3 separate regions of the Homo sapiens genome follow, and regions 1 and 3 are each linked to region 2. Evidence: promoter capture Hi-C in 16 types of primary human blood cells and fetal thymus (Javierre and others, 2016). All regions are on one chromosome and are shown on one strand. Each heading gives the region's core, a stretch centred on a gene start or on the middle of the fragment in contact. The rest is flanking DNA. Distances are from core to core; before and after follow the strand shown.

The links. Contacts are between HindIII fragments. The CHiCAGO score rates a contact against its expected background, and 5 or more counts as called.
Region 1: a contact is called between a fragment that was not itself captured here and the fragment with the promoter of GATAD1 in region 2, in 3 of 17 cell types (naive CD4 T cells, fetal thymus and non-activated CD4 T cells). The highest score is 10.2, in naive CD4 T cells.
Region 3: a fragment that was not itself captured here is called in contact with the fragment with the promoter of GATAD1 in region 2 in 4 of 17 cell types (naive CD8 T cells, total CD8 T cells, total CD4 T cells and 1 more); the score reaches 11.5 in naive CD8 T cells.

Annotation. Positions count from the first base shown.
Region 1 is chr7:91,086,643-91,090,705 of GRCh38, reverse strand. The region is part of intron 12 of CDK14 (cyclin dependent kinase 14); the gene reads right to left. Among named protein-coding and RNA genes, the nearest start is that of FZD1, 180 kb to the left of the region's middle. The HindIII fragment of the contact is 5,564 bases long and covers 1-4,063 here.
Region 2 is chr7:92,445,402-92,449,322 of GRCh38, reverse strand. GATAD1 (GATA zinc finger domain containing 1) reads right to left here and starts at 1,841. Exons shown (of 5, transcript NM_021167.5): 1 at 1,345-1,841; 2 at 446-571. The coding sequence starts at 1,593. RefSeq lists an enhancer at 672-721 and a silencer at 1,152-1,921. The HindIII fragment of the contact is 4,596 bases long and covers 1-3,751 here.
Region 3 is chr7:90,453,756-90,457,927 of GRCh38, reverse strand. No RefSeq gene overlaps it. Among named protein-coding and RNA genes, the nearest start is that of PTTG1IP2, 14 kb to the left of the region's middle. The HindIII fragment of the contact is 4,367 bases long and covers 341-4,172 here.

The DNA of each region.
Region 1 (4,063 bases), core at 1,280-3,779, 1.4 Mb after region 2:
GGGGCAGAGTCATAGGATTTGGATTTAAGCCTATAGCTATATAATAAAGAAATAAGTGCAAAAATAAAAACTTGGGCAGGAGGTTTTTAGCTGAAAATCCTAATTCACCTCACAACACATTATGGTAAAACACTTGCTTCAAGCTGATCAGAAGTTATGTTCTATCTTGCACCACGCAATTTGGTAGTCTCTAGCCACATGTGGTTATTTAAATTTAAACTAATAAAAATTAAATGAAATTAAAAATTCAGTTCCTCAATTGCACTAGCCACATTTTAAATTACTCAATAGCCACACGTGGCTAGTGGTTACCATACTGGAAAGTGAAGATAGCGAACATTCTTGTCAATGCATAAAGATCTATTGGACAGTACTGCTCTATATCCTTAAAATATGTAACGCAGCTTCTAGAAATTTCTACATTCTCATAAAGGAATAGTGTAGTTCACACAATGGGAGGATTTGCCTCTTTAGATGAACGGTAGAGACTGGATTGAGAAAATCAATGAATGTGGCAACAGAGAAGGGGTCCTGATCAGGGACTCACCCCAAAGAAGTGTGAGGCAGGCAAAGGAAGGAGCCCAGCTTTAAGCCCAACGTCTACTCTGAACAGAAAATGTCCCTGTGGAAATGTTTTTCATTTTCTTGGGAAAAATAAAAGGCACTAGAATTTTTTGGCAGTCACAAGCTAAAAGCAAAGGATGTGAGACAGCAGAATTCTAAGATAGGAAGGTAAAGTCCCACTTGACTACCAAATAAAATTAGAACTATAGGTACAGCTTGACTCAAATTCTACACTTCAGTAAAGGGTGACAAGAAATGAGAGCCAAATGAAAAAAATTCCATTTGTATTTATCTTTATAAATATAATGATGTGCTTAGTCCCATTTGGTGGCAAAGGCATGGAGCCTGGTGTAATCCCTAAGTAGCCTCCAAGGTAGGCTGAGCCAATTCATAAAAAATATTCATCATCCAAACAGACACCTAACGTGGCAGAGAGGGACAGACAAAGCATGGGGCAGCTCTGGCTTCTCTAACAGAGACATTTTACTTGTTTTGCTATCGGAAAATATATATATAGCTGCGTATCTCATATTTTACGGAGATAAACAGTTGCCTGTTTTTTTTTTTTTTTCCCCTCAGAGCATGCTGCCCTCTACAGGCCACATGGATATACACATATGTGAAGATGCATAAATAGGGTTCAGTTATATCCAAATAGGATCATTAGTAAAGGTAAGATGAAAAAGAGGGGAGGAGGTTGGGTATATCTGCGTGTCTAAAAGGCTTTAGAATCAAGATGAGAAGCAATCAACATTTATAAGCCTCTGATAAACTTTACCTCTTCAGCCGACAGACATATAAGAAATTATAAACAGTAATATAGTCCTATCATGCCGTTTTCCCTGAGAAACTTAAAAGTATGTCGACAGTCATTTTTTCTTTGTTTTAACTAGGGAGGAGAGGCTGGGGAAGAAAGAGAAGGAAGAATGGTTGACGTGGTTTGATGCCTTTTCCTAACATCTCCAAAGTACATCAGTTTTGATCTAAAACTTATTAAAACTCAGTTCTAAATTAGCAAATAAAAGCCAAAGCATTTAAAGAAGTACACATGATTTTATCCCTAAAAGTTTAATCTTTTAAGCCCTGGCTTCAGTGAAGTAGTTAAAATCTGGCCTAAGAAATGAGAACTACCCTTCATCTTTACTTCAAATCGATTCTTTTGCAATAGTTGTGCCATAAACACACACTCACACACACACATGCACACTCACAGCTGGTATGTTTATTGGTTTAGTCACTAAAGGATTTAGCTGGACAAACATCACAAAGATGATGGCTGATTTAATTGAATTTATGATCAAATGTTTTCTATTGCAGGAAGAGTGGGAAATCACTTATGGGGAGATTTGAATAATTTAAGGGAAGTTCTCTATTTGGCATTATGTTTGTATATCAAGTCTTGAGGGATTAAATACAGCTGAGGACTAGCAGAGAATTCACATAGAGATACACAAAGATATGCTGTATAACAATATAATGAGGGCCAGAATATTGATCCCTTTAATATTTCTATTCATTTGTCTCATTTATAGTCTGAGTAATAATAACCACACACACACACACACACACACATATATATAAACTCTATGAGACTTCCATTGTAAACCAATACTAGATTTTTCTGAAATCCCAAAGATGTTGAAATGATTTTAAAATATTCTTTCAGAGAAGACAGAAAAATAATTGTGTTGGGAGTTGTGTATGTGTGTGTTTCAGGCTTTTCAGTGCATTTTTGTTGTTGTTAAAGACATAATGAAATCTGTTGTTAAAGTAAATGTCACTGCCATGATGGAAATAACCGTTTAACATGGGATCTGTGCCTTAGGGTATGGATGTGGCTCAGTGTCTAAAAGAAAAAGGCCAGTTACTTTCAGAATCCCCTTCCCATTTTCCTCACCACAACAGATATGGCATGGCCATGCTCCCAGCCTTTATTCATTGTGTTTTGAGAGATAATTCATCTACCTTCCCCCTTTAAATGCTGTAAACAGCAAGGATAATTACTTTTAGTCTCACCTCTGAAATGACTGGGCCAAATGGATGCCCAGATCCCACACATCTGGCTTAGGGTTATCCATCAGTTTGTGTACAGGTTATATTACAAGAAAAGGTCCAATAGACATTTGAACTTGGTAACAGTGACCTGTCTATGGGTTTCTTTCAATCTAATTTGGAAAACTGTCTAATAAAATGTGTTTCAAGACTAAGAACAAATCACAGTATTGCATTAATTATGTACAACGCTATTTGTTAACACACCACTCTTAGGAAGAAACTGTTGAGGAAGGGGAAATCTTGTTTTTACACAACAAGCATTAAAAAAAAAAAGTTTTGGTGACCAAGCAGTTCAGCATGTGCCCCTAAGAAGGTAAAAAGAATATTCCAGAAGATGTCTGGGGACTCTATGTAGGAGTGGTATCCATGTTCAAGAGTAATTGCTTATTCGGAGCTGAATGAAACGCTCTCACTGGGAGGTAGGACAGGGAGCACTGAAAAAGAGAAGGGAGGTAAACTAATATTTGCCAAAGGACTGTGTCTAGTAAGGTACCCAGTAATTTATACCCTTACCTTACTTAAAGATTAAACAATAATCCTGCCAAGAGGTTATACAAATTGAAAAGCTGAGGCTCAGAGAGGTTAATGAGCTTCCTGAATATTACACAGCTCAGTAGTGGAACTAGGGATGAACCTGGTTCCTATGCTACCAAAGATGATGCTGGCTCCAAGCATTTAATTGCTATTTGTGTCAATAATTAGCTTGTGCAACCTTCCTTCCTCTCTTCTGTTTTTTTCTTTGCTATGTCAATACTATTTATTGATGGTATATTCTTAGGTCAGTAAGACCACTATGTACACAACATGTTAGATGCAGGTGTTAATAAGAATACTCTAGGAGCTCTATCCTCACAATGAATAGAAATTGAGCCCCAGTATTATAAAGTCTCCCCAAATGAAGAGAGGGATATATTGTTTCATGAAAATCAAATAAGTAGAAGGTGGAATGGGTAACAGTGGATACTAGGGATGACATTGTTGTTAAAATCATCTCTTTCTTAGCTAGGGATGGTGGTAGGTACTTATAGTCCCAGCTACTTGGGAGGCTGAGGTGGGAGGATTGCTTGAGCCCTGGAGGTCAAGGCTGTAGTGAGCCATGATCATGCCACTGCAGCCTGGGCAATAAAGCTGCAAAAAAACAAAACAAAAACGCTAAAAGCGAATAGTGTTTTTCTCCAGTGACTTCTTATATTCATCTTTATTTTGAGGCTGAACATTCACTAAATTTGTAAATATTTTCTTAATCAAATGAAAATGATATCAATAAATTTGAGGAAAGGTATCACATATCATGTGTTTCTTTTACATAAGGAGAGGTAAAAATGACTGCATTTCTGTTCATGCTTCACTTTGTAAAATGTGGTAGTTTTCAATGTCCTAAAACTTAAGAATTAAGATATATACACACACACACACACACACACACCCACAGGGGCCCAGTGAG
Region 2 (3,921 bases), core at 592-3,091:
ATACATTTTCTGGGGCTTTAATAACAAATAAATATGCAAATGATGAGTTCTAGTGTTAATATTTACTTAGATTTTTAAAGAATGAAAAAAAAAAGTTTTCTTAGTGTACCTGGCCATATCAAGAACCATAATCTCTCCTCTTCCTTTCCATAGAGAACCCCAAAAAATGGGCTCAAGGTTGATGTTTCTTTTAAACCCATATTTTATATTTTCCAGGGGAAAAAATAAAAGCTAAAAAACAAAAAGGAAAGAGTATTATTAACTTTATAAACAGTGAGCCTCCTGCAACAGAGCTCATTCCCTTTTGGGGAATCTGGACCATTCCCCAGAATACTAAGGAAGGGCTACCAAGGGCAGAGTCCAAGTTCAATGGTGAGAAATGAAGGCAGTGGCAGGATACACACAACGTCATTACAGTAAAAGGCACTGTCCACAAATATCTTACATTTTTCAATTTAAATATATGTCTTCTCCCTTTTCCTTTGGTGGAGACTTTCTTTTCAGCAGCCGGAGCAGATTTGTATTTAGTGTTTCTGAGCCGAGCAGACCTCCTGTGAATTTCCTGCTTACTCTGTTACACAAACAAATTAAAGAACAAAAAGAGAAAGAAGTAAAAAGTGCATAAAGGTTGCAGTACAATCATCTTACAAGGATCCCAGAGTATGTACTTTATAAGAGCATTTAACAATTAAGATTGCCCTTTTGCTTTTCAAGAGAAGTAATTACAGCAACTAGGCTAAGTAAAACCGGAAGTTCAGCACCCGGAATCTCGGAGCTCGCTGGACAGGCGTCTCCAGAGCCTCCAAAAGGTGTGAGCTGCTTGTAATAGGGCAGGAGGCGGGAGTAGGAGTCAGTCTTGACCAAGACAAACACTATTCATTTGTTGTGTCTACAATAGAGAAAAACACTTAACAACTTTACTCCCTAAGGCCAGAGAACGTAGTAGGTTATGGCGCCCCCTGCAACGGAATACTTAAGCTGCCATTTACAATAATGACATAATAATCTTACTTCATAACCTGATATGACAAAACCTTTAACAAGGAATGAGGTCCAGCGCCTGCATTTGTGGCATGACACTGTATACGACTGTGTAGACATGTGTATATTGAGATTTTCTTAAGGGCTTTACATCTTGGTTCTTATTGCTTTGAATTTCTTACAATAACAGGTGCTTCGGAATGGGCCAAACGAAAGATCTCAGTAGGAGGTGGGGAGGGGCGTTCCAGCCAGCAGGAGCACGGCGATCGGGGAAGCCCGCGCCCGCCCGCTCCCAGCCAGCCCGTCCCCGCCCGCCTAGCACCTGGTCGGCCTCCGCCGGCGGGAGGGGCCGGAGGAGCTCACCTGCTTGCCGCCCCCGCCCCCGTTGCTCTGCGGAGGGGTGGCGGAGGTGCTGGCGAAGGTCGCCGCGCCGAAGCCGCCGCCGCCGCTGCCCCCAGTCCCTCCAGCCGCCCCCGAGCCTGCGCCCCCGCTGCCCGCGCCGCCCCGGCCAGTGCAATGATGGCAGAGGATCTCCCCCTGCGCTCCCTTCTTCCACATGGAGGACGACGTGGTCTTGCATACGCTGCAGGTGGGCTTCAGGCCCAGCGGCATGGTGGCCGGCTCGGGCGGCCCCCGCGGGCGCAGAGACACGGGAATGGCGGACGGTAGCCCGGCCGCCCCCTGGTCGGCCCGCCACTCCCGGCGATAGGAAGAGCGGTGAGAGCGTCGGCACGGAGCTGCCGGTGAAAGGACCAGGCCGCTGGCGCTGCCCCGTGGAGGCGGGAAGCGGGTTCCGCCGGCTCCGCAGGCGGAGGCCAGGATTCCCTGGCCCGAGGCACTGGGAAGCAGGACTGGGAAAGGGATCTGGCCGGGGTGGGGGGGACGCGGAGACTTCCGGCGGTGAGCTGGCCCCAGGGCCCCGCAGCCCGACCGCCTGACCGGAAGTGCAGCACCCGGAATTACTGGGAGCTTGCTGCAGTTCCGCTTGCTGTCGCCTAGGGGCAGGGTTCTCAAACTTTTTGGTCTCAGGCCTAGAATTTGCCGGGTAAAATACAGGACGCCCAATTAAATGTGACTTTCAGGTAAACGACGAACAATTTTTTTAGCGTGAGTGTATCCCATGCAATAATGGTTTATCCGAGAGGCGTTTAACTGGGGGTCCTGTATTTTTATGTGCTAAATCTGGCAATCCAGGTCTGGCGTGGTGGCTCACGCCTGCAATCCCAGCACTTTGGGAGACCAAGGCCGGCGGATTACTTGAGCTCAGGAGTTCGAGATCAGCCTGGCCAACGTGGTGAAACCCCTTCTCTAATAAATATACAAAAATTAGCCGGGCTCAGTGGCGGGCTCTGGGGTAATCCCAGCTACCCTGGAGGCTGCGGCAGAAGAATCTCTTGAGCGCGGGAGGTGGAGGCTGCAGTGAGCCAAGATCGCGCCATTGCACTCCAGCCTGGGGGATAGAGTGAGACTCCGTCTCAAAAAAAAAAAAAAAATCTGGCAATCTTACTTAGGAACCCTTTACACTCTTAAAAATTATACTTTGGACATCGCCCTACACCTCCCCCATGTCTATACTTTTGTTTAGTTGAATTCAGAGCATGCCGTTTATGGACATCGACAAAGGGTTCAGAAAATGCCATCCACTGACATCTATGTATTAGAAATTGAAATTGAGACATTTTACAGCCTAAGATGTCAAGCGCACATTCTTCAGCCGTTGGATAATATCGTTGCAAATCCTGTGGACTCTGAAGAGTATACCGATTAGAGAATGCGGAGAAAATCGAATAGCTGGCTGTTATTCAATTCAAAACTGTTGGAAAACAGTTTTGGCTCTGAGGACCCAGCAGTTGACAAACAGCAGGCCTGGGACAAGAGCAGTATGAGAAGTCAGATCGCCTCTTTTAATGTCACTAGTCAGTACAGGCCTCGCCAGACAAGTCTCTCCTCAGCCTCACTTGGAAGAACATGCCCTCTCTTCATGATCCTGGGTTTCCTAGACTTAGTATCCTTGGAAAGGTCTTGATGAATATATTGTGGTGGGAAGCAGTGGGGAGAAACAAACGCCTATTATGTCACAAAACCACATTTAGTGCTTATAACAACCTTGGAATGAGATATTATCAGATTTTACTGTTAATTGGTGATCAACGGAGGCACTTCTATGTGGACTGGCTGTCATTATAGCTGCTGCCCTTGGCACCAATTTCGAGGAGGGCTTTGGAACAGCCCTCTGGGGTGTGGGTTGTGGCTCAGTCACCTCCCCTCTAAATCTCAGTTTCCTTAACAGTAAAAATAAGTTTCCAGGACTGTTATGGGGATTAGGGCCAACTGTAAAAGTGGCTGAGGAGACTAGGTAAAGAGTGTTGTCTCACTTTAGAACAATGCTGAAGGTGTTTAGAGCCTGCCATCCTAAAATATGCCACTTTGGCATACTGATTCTTCTGAGCCAGAGGCAATGGAGCAAAAACAGATGCAGGGAAGGCTGTCTGACCACCCTCTTTCTGTTTGAAGCGGAACATAAAAGTTCCCTTGTGAAAGGTGCCCTTTCTGTACCAGGAAGAGGAGAATATTATTGCCAGAGGCAGAGTTGCCACTGAGAAGAATCTACAAACAAAACCTTACAAAAATTTGTAACCCATATTTTCCATTAACTTTCTACATACGGTTCTTCGTCACTTTCCCACAATTTGCCAGCCTTAGCCCAAGCCCCTTTGTCTTGTCACATCCCTGCAATTTATTATTTTTTGTTTAAAAGGACATATAAGCTTTCGGGCCTAGTAACTTCTATGGGTCTTTATTTTTCTTACAAAGCCTCCTGTGCATGTACAAAAATATTAAAACTTTTATGCCTTTTCCAGTAAATCTGTCTTATGTTAGTGTAATTCCCATGCCCAGCTACAGAACCAAAGAGGTGAGAAGAGGCCAGGCGTAGTGGCT
Region 3 (4,172 bases), core at 1,275-3,774, 2.0 Mb after region 2:
TCAACATATGCAAATAGATGGCAACAAACATCTCAATACTTTTGAAAGTTATGATCTTTTCTTTAATCCATTTTCTTATCCTTCTTGTTTCCCAGTTTAAAACTCTTGAAGTCATCCTTGATTCCTTTAATTCTCTGAAACTCCACATATAGTTCATTAGTAAATCACCTCTACCTTCGAATTAGCAAACTTCTACCTCCTCTTCTGTTACTGCAATTGTGCCCCAACTGGTCTCCTTGCTCCCACCCTTGCCCTTCCTTCTTCTCACTGCTTATTGGTAATACAGCAGCCAGTAATTATTTTAAAATGAAAGACCTGGTAACACCTCTATTTGGAAGCTTCCATTTCACTCAGAGTAATACCCAAACTCCTTACAAAAGACTTAGCCTGAGTGACCTGACACCTCCTCCACCTTGTGCCTCTGTCATCATCTACTATTACTCTCCTCTTCTTTCATTAGGCTACAGCCTTGCTGGAATCTTTGCTGTCTCTCTGATACACCAGGCATGCTGTCACCCTAGGGCCTTTACAGTGTTTATTCCCTCTCCTGGACCACACTTTTTTCAGACAGCCCCTCGGCTACCTCTTTTACCTTCAAGTCTTTGTTCAAATGCCATCTTCTCAATGAGACCTAATCTGAATGACGTTAGAGAATATTGCAACCTGTACCTCCTCACACCAGCATCTCCAATTCCCTTGGCATGCTCTGTTGCCCTAAGGCATTGAATTGTCTCCTAAAATACTGTATAACATACTCATTATGTTATTGCTTTTTGTTTTTTTCTTTCTCCTGTCCAGTAGAATTTCAGCTCCATGAGATAGGGGTTTTTGCCTCTTTTGTTCACTGAGGTAACCTAAGCATTAGACAGTGCCTAGCACACAGTAGGTGCTCAATACATATGTTTTAGGTCAGGCACTGTGGCTCATGCCTGTAATCCCAGCACTTTGGGAGACTGAGGCAGGCGGGTCGCTTGAGTCCAGGAGTTCGAGACCAGCCTGGGCAACATGGCAAAACCCTGTCTCTACAAAAAATACATAAAAATTAGCCAGGCGTGGTGGTGGGTACCCATAGTCCCAACTGCTTGGGGGGCTGAGGAGGGAGGATTGCTTGAGCCCGGGAGGCCGAGGTTGCAGTGAGCCGAGATCACAATGCTGCACTCCAGCCTGGGTGACAGAGTGGGACCCTGTCTCAGAAAAACTAAAACTAAAACCCAACCATATGTGTCAATTGAATTTTTATCCCCAAATCATTTATCACCTTAATTCTGGTCTAATATTCCAAGTTCTTTCAGAAGTCTCTACTTGAATGTCCTTAAGACAACTCAAACTCAGTATGCCCCAAGTCAGACTCATTTTCCCCATCAAATTCGTTCTTTCCCCTGTTTTCCTAATTGGATTCATAGCATCGATAACCATCCAGTCAGCTATGGGAGACGCCACCAGGGTCATTCCGCATTTTCAGTTTTGGAACAAGTTCCTAGCCCTCTCCTAATGCTAATAAGCATTTGATATTAATACTGAGCCTTTAGCCACACATGCAAATACTATGTTTTTCATTGCTTTAGTCACTTAGTCTCTTGGGGATTACTGTCCACGGGTTTGTGTATTGGTCTGCTAGGGGTGCTATAACAAAATCCCACAGATTGGGTGGCTTTAACAACAGAAATTTATTTTTCACAAATTTACTTCTCTGGAGGCTAAAAGTCCAAGATCAAATTGCTGGCAGGGTTGGTTTCTCCTGAGGTTTCTCTCCTTGGCTCACAGAGGGCCACCTTTTTGCTGTGTCCTCACGTGGTCTTTCTTCTGTGCACATATACTCCCGTTGTCTTTTCCTCTTCCCATAAGGACACCAGTTCTATTGGGTTAGGGCCCCATTCTTGTGACTTCATTTAACCTTAATTAACTCCTCAAAGCCCTATCTCCAAATATAGCCACATTAGGGATTAGTCCATCAATAAATGAATTTTGAGAGGACAAAATTCAGTCCATAACAATTAGACACAATGCTTTTCTGTCCCTTTAAAATTATTCCTGTTTTCAAAAGTTCATTCTTTGTGCATATGCAAACTTTGTTCTTTTCTTTCTATTTTCCATCTGTTTTGAATAATCTCTATTCTTGGCTTTATCATAAACAAATGTATGCCTGCTAAAATAGCTTTTCCCAATACTCTTACTGTTTTGCATTTATCAGGTGTGGATGGAGTTAATATTTGTAAAACATTTTCTAAAAATAGAGAAAAGCAGCTAACAGAGTCAAGAACGGAACACTTCATGGCCCCAAATAACCAACTATGACTACTAATGCCATCTGTTGGCAGCAACAGAAATTGCATGTTTTTTATCTGGATAGTAGCTTTGTTCAGATCTATCACGATCTACGTGCTGAAAATTTGAAGGTAAAGAAATCCCTGTATTCTCTTCCTTTACCTTCCATATTCCTGTCTGTGACAGTAAGCAGCCCAGCAGGAAGGTTAATTGAAGAGAATTCAATGAAGGGACTAAATACAGAGGTGTGTCAAGAGTAACAATAACCAAGGACGGTGAAGCACCCAGTGACTAACAACGAAGAGAAGCTATTACCATCCCTGCAACTGAAGAGACAGAGCAGGGAATGGAAGGGCTGAAATCAGAGAGAACTGAAGGATTGCCCAAAAGAAGCTGTGGTCATAAGGTAAAGGAAACATAGTTTGGCTGAGCGAGTAGGGGGAATAAATACCCAAATCTTTCTCTTCTCCTACTATCTATTCTCCCAAAGTCAGAGGAGCAAAGAAACTCAGATAATGCAATCTGTAGGTCGACGTAGGGCAGAGAAGGATGGAGAATGAATTTGGAGGGTTAGCCAGTGTCTTGATCTGTTTTGTACTGCTATAGTGAAATACCTGAGGCTAGGTAATTTATAATGAACAGAAATTTATTTGGCTCACAGTTCTGGGGGCTAGAAAGTCCAAGGTTAAGGGCCTTCTTGCTGCATCGTCCCGTGGTAGAAGGCAGAAGGGGAAGAAAGCACACATGTGAGAGAAGAAAGGGAGCCAAACTCCTTTTTATTAGGAACCTACTCCCATGATAACTAACCGACTCCCTAGATAATGGCATTAATCCATTCATAAGGGCAGACCCCTCATGACCTAATCACCTCTTAAAGGTCCCACCTCTCAACATTGTTGCATTGGGAATTAAATTTCCAACACATAACTTTGGGGGACATGACGAAATCATAGCAGCTAGTGAATAGTTAGCATAACTTCCCTTCACAAAATGAATTGTCCTCTCTTCTATTTTATGTACAGATTGAGTTCTTAAATGTCTCATCCATGGTTGTAAGTATTCCAACACAAAAAAATGTACTTAAGAGGAACTAATAAATACATATTTTTGAATAAATAAATGAATACTCATTATTTATCTCCATGACTTAAAATTTTGCTGGAGGAAAAAATGGCAACTGTACTCTATTTTATGTTATGCCTTATGCCCAATGAATTCCATCGAAATTCAATACATTAAATTCCAATCCTGAATACAATAAATACAACAATAAAGCAAACAAGATCATTTTTCCTGATTCCTGGCTATATGTTTATATGAGAAACAAATTTAAATAATAAGAGAAAAATCCCCACAGTTTGCCTTTTAAAAATAAAATTTGAAGTATATTTTAAGAATAATAATAGCTCACTTATCTTTTCTTTCAGCGTTAAAAGTTCTTACAAAGGCTTTAAATGAAAGTGAAGAGTTATGTTTATCTTCAAAAGTAGTACTAAAGTCAACACTGAAAGCCCTTGAATGTAGTCCAACAGTTGAACTTTAATAAACAAACAGCCTGTTGAAGGCAGGCAGATTAAAAGTCTCCAGTATACTACAGTTTAATTAGCAAGTACTGTTACAGCCAGGGTCTATACCTCCTTCCCCCAGACACAGAGAAATTATGTTTATGATGACTGGTGTTCCTTTGTTCTGACCATTATAACTGTCAATCACTAAACTGTGGAAGTTGTCTGATATGACATTTAAGACAAACATACAAGTATACTCATCAACTGCAGTCTAATTACTACAGTTGGCTTAATGACAGGGTTGCATCAATTTTTTAGTAGTACTATCAGTCTTGAAATCCTAAAGCAGATAGTCTAGCAGATCTCCAAATGTCATATTCTCTTGTATATTTCCAACTT